3 separate regions of the Homo sapiens genome follow, and all the other regions are linked to region 1. The links are contacts of gene promoters, found by promoter capture Hi-C in human tissues and cell types (Jung and others, 2019). All regions are on one chromosome and are shown on one strand. The core of a region is centred on a gene start or on the middle of the fragment in contact, and the rest is flanking DNA. Distances in the headings are between cores, read along the strand shown.

What was found. The method cuts DNA at HindIII sites, captures the fragments that hold promoters and counts their contacts. A contact is called where the count stands out against the background at its distance.
Region 2: a fragment that was not itself captured here is called in contact with the fragment with the promoter of AOAH in region 1 in 2 of the 25 tissues and cell types used here (H1 embryonic stem cells and bladder).
Region 3: a contact is called between a fragment that was not itself captured here and the fragment with the promoter of AOAH in region 1, in 2 of the 25 tissues and cell types used here (H1 embryonic stem cells and small bowel).

The regions. Positions count from the first base shown.
Region 1 is chr7:36,723,244-36,725,833 of GRCh38, forward strand. It overlaps AOAH (acyloxyacyl hydrolase), which reads right to left and starts at 1,251. Exons shown (of 21, transcript NM_001637.4): 1 at 779-1,251. The coding sequence starts at 905. The HindIII fragment of the contact is 16,117 bases long and covers 1-2,590 here.
Region 2 is chr7:37,152,725-37,155,314 of GRCh38, forward strand. All of the region lies in intron 13 of ELMO1 (engulfment and cell motility 1), which reads right to left. Among named protein-coding and RNA genes, the nearest start is that of ELMO1-AS1, 160 kb to the left of the region's middle. RefSeq lists an enhancer at 954-1,573. The HindIII fragment of the contact is 3,947 bases long and covers 1-2,590 here.
Region 3 is chr7:36,430,586-36,433,175 of GRCh38, forward strand. The region is part of intron 20 of ANLN (anillin, actin binding protein); the gene reads left to right. Among named protein-coding and RNA genes, the nearest start is that of ANLN, 42 kb to the left of the region's middle. The HindIII fragment of the contact is 4,965 bases long and covers 1-2,590 here.

The sequences.
Region 1 (2,590 bases), core at 1-2,500:
CATCTAAATGCCACCACTATTATGAGAATTCCCATGTTATGAGAGCTACAATGTGAATATCAAAGATCTTACCTTACTTCCTGCTCTCATCCAAAAAAAACAAACAAAAAAAACCTCTTGGAAATAAAACACTTCATTAACAGATGAGCCAAGAAGCCATATCAACGCTCAGCGTCTCCAGGTGATCGCCAAATCTGGATTCTCTGAGAGACGGAAGGAAGCTAAGATGGTTGAGTCCTTACTGTGTGCACATGCCACAGATTTACATGCATGGTCACAATTTCCATGGTATCCCTATGAGATGGGTCTCACTCACTTCAGTTCACCAATAAGGACACAGAAGCATGGAGAGGGTTAAGTACATTGCTCCAGGTTTCCACAGCCAGTAGGAAATGGGAGAGAAGGGTAGGAGGAGGGCAGTGATTCAAACTCAGATGTGTTTATATGAGGTCAAAGCCCATGAAAAGCAGTAAAAATTTCAGACTAAAATAGCCTGAAATAATAGTTACCTATACAAGAAGAAAAAATTCCAATCGCCAATGAGGTGGAAGAGTTTTATGCCCAATTTAAACTAGTATGCTTTTTATTCACATAGATGTATGTAGTGTCAATGTCTACTCTTAGACTCCACATTTCTCTGTGTCAGTGAGGTTACTGGTGCCTTACCTGGAATCTTACAATTCTTGATTTAATAAAATATGTGATTTATTACGCAAGCAAAGTACTGGATCCCATTGTTATGTCTACATAGAAAATACAAAAATATTTATTTGCATACCTACACAGGTGTGCCCATTCGAGAGGCTGGGCCTGGACTGGTCATCGTTGGCTGGAGAGGCCGAGGACTGAAGAGACAGGAGCAAGAATAGAGGCGCCACCGTAAGGATTTTCCAGGGGGACTGCATCTCCGAGCTATGCACCCCAAGTGATCACCCGGCTTTGGAAGCTCCCAACTGAGGGATGCTGGAGCTGAGGCTGCAGAATCAATTGATCTCTCTCTCCTTCTCTTCCTCACTCTCTTTGACACACACACCCCACCCTCTCACATACACACTTTTCAATAAGTGTGAAGTGAATAAAAGCACACATAAACACTCACAGACCCACAGCTTGCTCTTGTTGGACCCTGAGAGAGCCACACACAAAGAGCTGGAGGGAGTCTGTGGTGTGCGGTTCTGCTGAGGTAAAGACTGCAGGATAAAGAAAACCCAAGTTGCACAGTGGCACAACTTCCGTGCTCCCTGGCTCAGTGAAGTTAGTGTGCATAAACCCCGTGAGCCTCGAGGCTTGCCGGAACTGATCTGTTGGGTTGGTTAGGAGGCCCTTCCCCTTTCATTCTTGCAAAACAAAACAAAACGATACTAAAGCCAAAACTGAGAAGAAAAAAGAAAAAAAAAACTAATCCACAAGCACACAACCCTTTAACAATTTGATCAGCAGCACCCACATATTGTAGAAATTCTAATTGGTTACATTCAGAACTTACTTAGTCTTGTTTTCAACAGCTTTATATGGTAAGGTTGTGATCCTTATTTTGTTGTAAAAGGATATTCTGGTCAAATAATATCTTTCCTCTGGAGAAATTGGGTTATTCCTTGAAGGGTCAAGGCCTTTTATTTGGTGTGCAGAAAATAAACAGTACAGAAAATAATGGGCAGTTAGCATGGTGGGATTTTAGACCTAATGAGAAAAAACATGGGTTAGAATTAATCAATTCACAGTTGCTAGGCTGTGCACAATGCATCTTTTTTTTCTCCAGAATTTCGAAGTGCATTTTGTGGATGATTTGTTAAGAGACTGATTTTCTGCTCTGAAGAATAGAACTGAACACTGTCTTTCTGAGGGAAAAAAAAAATCGGAACCAGATCATAGATAAAAGACATATAATCTAAATGTTTCTCTCTAAAATAAGATAAAACAAAATCATATGCCATTCTCAGTCAAGATAAGAGGACAGGGCCAAAGTACCACAGTCTAGGTAAGTGTAGGAGGTCATGAGATTCTGTTTCTCTCTGCTTAGGCTCTGAGGGAGCTTATTACAAATTTTGAAATATTATAGAAGCTATCTAAATTGTTAGCAATTAAAAAAAATAGCATTTGGAGTAGCAGGCAAAGTTTTAGAGTAGCATCCTTTCCAGGATGTAGGAAATACCAGTTTTTATGGTTGGAAGATTTCTTGTGCAGTCATTAGTCTTACAAGCACCGATGGGGCTACAATTCCCAAACCTGCTGCAGAGATAGCACAAGTCAGAGTGTTTCCCTAATTACACTTCCAGCCCAATACTGAGGATATCGTTAGGCGTCCATGGGCCTGTGACTTCCTCTGACTCTAAGGTGCTGCTGCTTCAGTTCTTCACTCTGTGACTAAGGGGAGCTCTGGGGTCACTAGGACCACCACAGGGGTGAGGCCTAGAGAAGTTCCAGAGACTTCCAAGGGAGGCTAAATAAAGGACTGATTGATTAGGAACTCAGATTGTGAAGACAGAAAGGCTCATGCTTACGTCTCATGTCTACTGTTTATTCTGAGTAATATATTAGACCAGTGATGTAACTTTCCCCCCTTCAGTGTCTTGTTTTTGTTGTTGTTGTT
Region 2 (2,590 bases), core at 62-2,561, 430 kb after region 1:
AAAGGCTCTGGTTTAAAAAAGAAGAAAATGAAAGGAACAGAATTTGCGATATAAACTTCTATGTAAATATATTAGAAAGCACCAGATTATCAATCTACTTAGATGTGAGCATGTTCATGATGAACTGAGAAATGAAAAAAGCAAGTTTTTGTATAATGTGTATAAGCTGGTTGTGTTGGAGCAAAATCCAAACAAATGGTAGTTATCTCTGCATATGTCTCCAAGGGGTATCTGCCGGAGCGGACACCTATAAGGGACACACGTGGGGAAGGATCCATCAAGCTGCTCAGAGAAGGAGTGAGGGGCAGGAAAAGCTGGAACCAATTTCTGAAAGTGTATTTTTTGATAGTAATTATACTAACCTCAACCTCCTCCAACAAGTAGGCACTTCGGGAATTATATCTCACAGAAAAATGACTTTAAGAATAGACTTACGGGTCACTTCCAAGATGGCCAAATAGAAACAGCTCCGGTCTACAGCTCCCAGTGATATTGACGCAGCAGACGGGTGATTTCTACATTTCCAACTGAGGTACCTGGTTCATCTCACTGGGACTGGTTGAATAGTGGATGCAGCCTATGGAGGGCGAGCCAAAGCAGGGTGGGGCATCACCTCACCCGGGAAGCACAAGGGGTCCAGGGATTTCCCTTTCCTAGCCAAGGGAAGCTATGAGTGACTCTACCTGGAGGAACGGTACACTCCTGCCAAAATACCGTGCTTTTCCCACAGTCTTCACAATCGGCAGACCAGGAGATTCCCTCCTGTGCCTGGCTTGGCTGGTCCCACGCCCACAGATCCTTGGGATGCTAGCACAGCAATCTAAGATCAACCTGGGATGCTGGAGCCTGGCAGGGGGAGGGGTGTCTGCCACTGCTGAGGCTTGAGTAGGCGGTTCTATGTTCACAGTGTAAACAAAGCAGCAGGGAAGCTCAAACTGGGCAGAGCCCACCACAGCTCAGCAAGGCCTACTGCCTCTCTAGATTCCACCTCTGGAGGCAGGGCGTATCTGAACAAAAGGCAGCAGACATCTTCTGCAGACTTAAACATCTCTACCAGACAGCTCTGAAGAGAGCAGTGGTTCTCCCAGCACAGGGTTCAAGATCCGATAATGAACAGACTGCCTCCTCAAGCAGGTCCCTGACCCCCGAGTAGCCTGACTAGAAGACACCTCCCAGTAGGAGCAGACAGACACCTCATACAGGTGGGTGCCCCTCTGGGACAAAGCTTCCAGAGGAAGGATCAGGCAGCAATATTTGCTGTTCTACAGCCTCCAGGGGTGTTACCCAGGCAAAAAGGGTCTGGAGTGGACCTCCAGCAAACCGCAACAGACCTGAAGCTGAGGGGCCTGTCTGTTAGAAGGAAAACTAACAAACAGAAAGGAATAGCATCAACATCAACAAAAAAGGACATCCACACCAAAACCTCATCTGTAGGTCACCAACGTCAAAGACCAAAGTTAGATAAAACCACAAAGATGGGGAGAAACCAGAACAGAAAGGCTGAAAATTCCAAAAACCAGAGCACCTCTTCTCCTCCAAAGGATCGCAGCTCCTCTCCAGCAAGGGAACAAAACTGCATGGAGAATGAGCTTGACGAGCTGACAGAAGTAGGCTTCAGAAGGTCGGTAATAACAAACTTCTCCGAGCTAAAGGAGCATGTTCTAATCCACCACAAGGAAGCTAAAAACCCTGAAAAAAGGTTAGATGAATAGCTAACTAGAACAACCAGTGTAGAGAAGAGCTTAAATGACCTGATGGAGCTGAAAACCACAGTACGAGAACTGCGTGAAGCATACACAAGCTTCAATAGCCGATTTGATCAAGCGCAAGAAAGGATATCAGTGATTGAAGATCAAATTAATGAAAAAGAGCGAGAAGACAAGATCAGAGAAAAGAGTGAAAAGAAACTAACAAAGCCTCTAAGAAATACGGGACTATGTGAAAGACCAAATCTACATTTGACTAGTGCACCTGCAAATGACGGGGAGAATGGAACCAAGTTGGAAAACACTCTGCAGGATATTACCCAGGAGGGCTTCCCCAATCTAGCAAGGCAGGCCAACATTCAAATTCAGGAAATACACAGAATACCACAAAGATACTCCTTGAGAAGAGCAACCCCAAGACACATAATTGTCAGATTTACCAAGGTTGAAAGGAAGGAAAAAATGTTAAGGGCAGCCAGAGAGAAAGGTCAAGTTACCCACAAAGGGAAGCCCATCAGACTAACAGCGGATCTTTCTGCAGAAACCCTACAAGCCAGAAGAGAGTAGGGGCCAATATTCAACATTCTTAAAGAATTTTCAACCCAGAATTTCATATCCAGACAAACTAAGCTTCATAAGTGAAGGAGAAATAAAATCCTTTACAGACAAGCAAATGCTGAGAGATTTTGTCACCACCAGGCCTGCCTTACAAGAGCTCCTAAAGGAAGCACTAAACATGGATAGGAACAACTGATATGAGCCACTGCTAAAACATGCCAAATTGTAAAGACCACTGATGCTAGGAAGAAACTGCATCAATTAATGGGCGAAATAACCAGCTAGCATCATAATGACAGTATCAAATTCACACATAAGTAACACCA
Region 3 (2,590 bases), core at 46-2,545, 290 kb before region 1:
TTAGGAAATAGAAATGTCAATTTAAATATTATTAGAGCAAACAATTTTGAAGTAAAACAACCAATTAGGATTATACAGTTTTGGGATTGAAGAAAATGGTTAGGCATTCTGGTATGCCCTGAACTATCCAGTTTATACCTGTTGGCCTTGTGTAATTATTAATGGTGCCCCTTTCACCCTCAAAAATATCCCAGCATATAACACATTACACAGTCTCCCTGGTTGTAGGTTATATTTTACAGCTCTTAACATAATCTTTGAAGTGTGGATGTCTTAAAAGACTCCTTTGTTAAACACAAAACAGAATAGGATCATACATTTTCACACAAGTCTCCCTCCACACTCAACTAGGGGGAGGGGTAGTAAACTTGACGTTTTTGTGAATATTTTCAATTTACTTCTTTATCAGGACAAGCTTCTAACCAAAAATATTGTCTACTTTTCCTCAGCTACAGAGTAAGAGGGCACATTTTCTTCTCATTGTTCTGATTTTTGTTATCAGTAGCATGCTCTGTGCTAAACAATGGAATTCTGTTAAATACCATTGAGAGGAAAGAGCCTAAGGAACTTAAAACTCACTGTAAGGAAAAGCAAAAAGGGAATTTTTACAAAATAGGATGATGAGGCATATGATGTTTTGGTTCTGCATTGTGGATCGGTTTCAAATTTGGGCAGTTGGAGGTTCATCTCATGAAATTAGTCTACTGAAATTTATACTTTTTGTCTTAGAATTCCCCCTTTAAGTTATCTTTGCTATGTTAGAGGGTCAAATCATTGGAAACTAATTATACTAAAAACTCAAATTTAGACTTAACTAAGATTAATCCAGTTGGGATGCCATTCTTTTTCCCTGGGCAATAGAAATGACAGACACTTCCATCTTCCTTTCTATCTTGACTCAGAAGTCAATGTTACTTTAGATATCTGTCTATCTATCTATCTATCATATATATATGTGTGTATATATGTGTGTGTTTGTGTGTGTGTGTGTGTGTGTGTGTGTGTGTGTGTGTATATATATATATATATATAATATATATATATATATTACCATTTTATTCTTGATTTCAGGGACAAATCATTGATGGAACCAATCCAGGCCTTGTATAACCAAAAGACTAGCAGTTGGCGTTTATCTTTTCCCTTCAAGGCTTGGGTGTTAGCAGCTTTATAGATAAGGGCAGTTCTGATCATAAACCCACTTACCTTTACACAAAACAGGAGTTAGCCTATCCCTTCTGCCTTAAATTCTGGTTCTCACTTCCTTGCTAATAAATGTCCCTTGTGGCTTTCTTTTTTCCCCCCCAGAATAGGGCACTTTTATCTGAATTAAAAATTTGTTCAGGTTGGGCACTGTAGCTCATACCTACAATCCCAACACTTTGGGAGGCCAAAGTGGGAGGATCGTTTAAAGCCAGAAGTTCAATACCAGCCTGAGCAACATAGATGATGAAAACAGTTTTTTTTCATCAAAGAATAAAAAAATATTAGCTGGGTGTGGTGGTACACACCTGTAGCCCTAGCTATTCAGAAGGCTGAGATGGGGGAATTGCTTGAGCCCAGAAGTTCAGAAGTTCAAGGCTGCAGTGAGCTATGATCACGCCACTGCACTTCAGCCTGAGTGACAGAGTGAGACCTTGTTTTGGAAAACAATAACAAAAAACAAACTTGTTCAGGCAGATATCCTTTTTCTTCACTGATTTTCTTAATGGTGTCTGGGAACTCATCTCCTGTCTCATTTGGTAGAAGCTGCTTCTTCTGTTGTATCTTGACATTTTTAAAGCCTCTTTCTAAAATTATCAAACCATCCTTTGCTGGCATTAAATATTCAAGTTGAAGATCCTTCACCTTCCTTTAATCCTATATTAGAGTCTATAGGTGTGTCTTTCTTATAGCAATCCTGCACTCACATAAAAACTGTATTTTCAATATAAGATCAAAATGTATTTCACAAAAAATGCATCTTTATATTTGTTTACATTTCTCCTGACTGAATGGTGCCATGTACAGTCTGTGTAAGTTATAGAAAACGTTTGCCAACTCGTAGTCTACCATTTTGTTATTTGTTTTCTATTTGTTTCGTCTGTTCTTTACTGCTTTGTTTTCCCTTTCCTGCCTTCTTCTGGATTAATTGAGTATTTTGGTAATCCTTTTTAATCTCCTCTTTTGGATTTTTTAGCTATACTTACCTGTTTTTGTTTTTGTTTTTTAAGGCGTTGGTAGGAAATAATGTATGCATCCTTACCTTATTAAAGTCTATTTTGAAATACTGTTACACTGCTTCATGTAACTTACAATATGAACCTCACAACAGTATAGTTCATTTTCCCATCCCAGTATATTTTACTTCTTTGTTATAAACCACACAATGCACTGTTGTTACTTTTTCTTTAATCAGTTTTTTTCTTTTTTAAGAGATGGGGTCTTGCTATGTTTTCCAGGCTGGCCGTGAACTCCTGGGCTCAAGCCATCCACCTGCCTTGCCTCCCAAAATGCTGGGGTTACAGTTGTGAACTACTGTGCCCAGCCTCTTGAATCAATTTTTAAAAGAAACTTTTATATTTTTATAAACTGGTCCTTATATTTACCA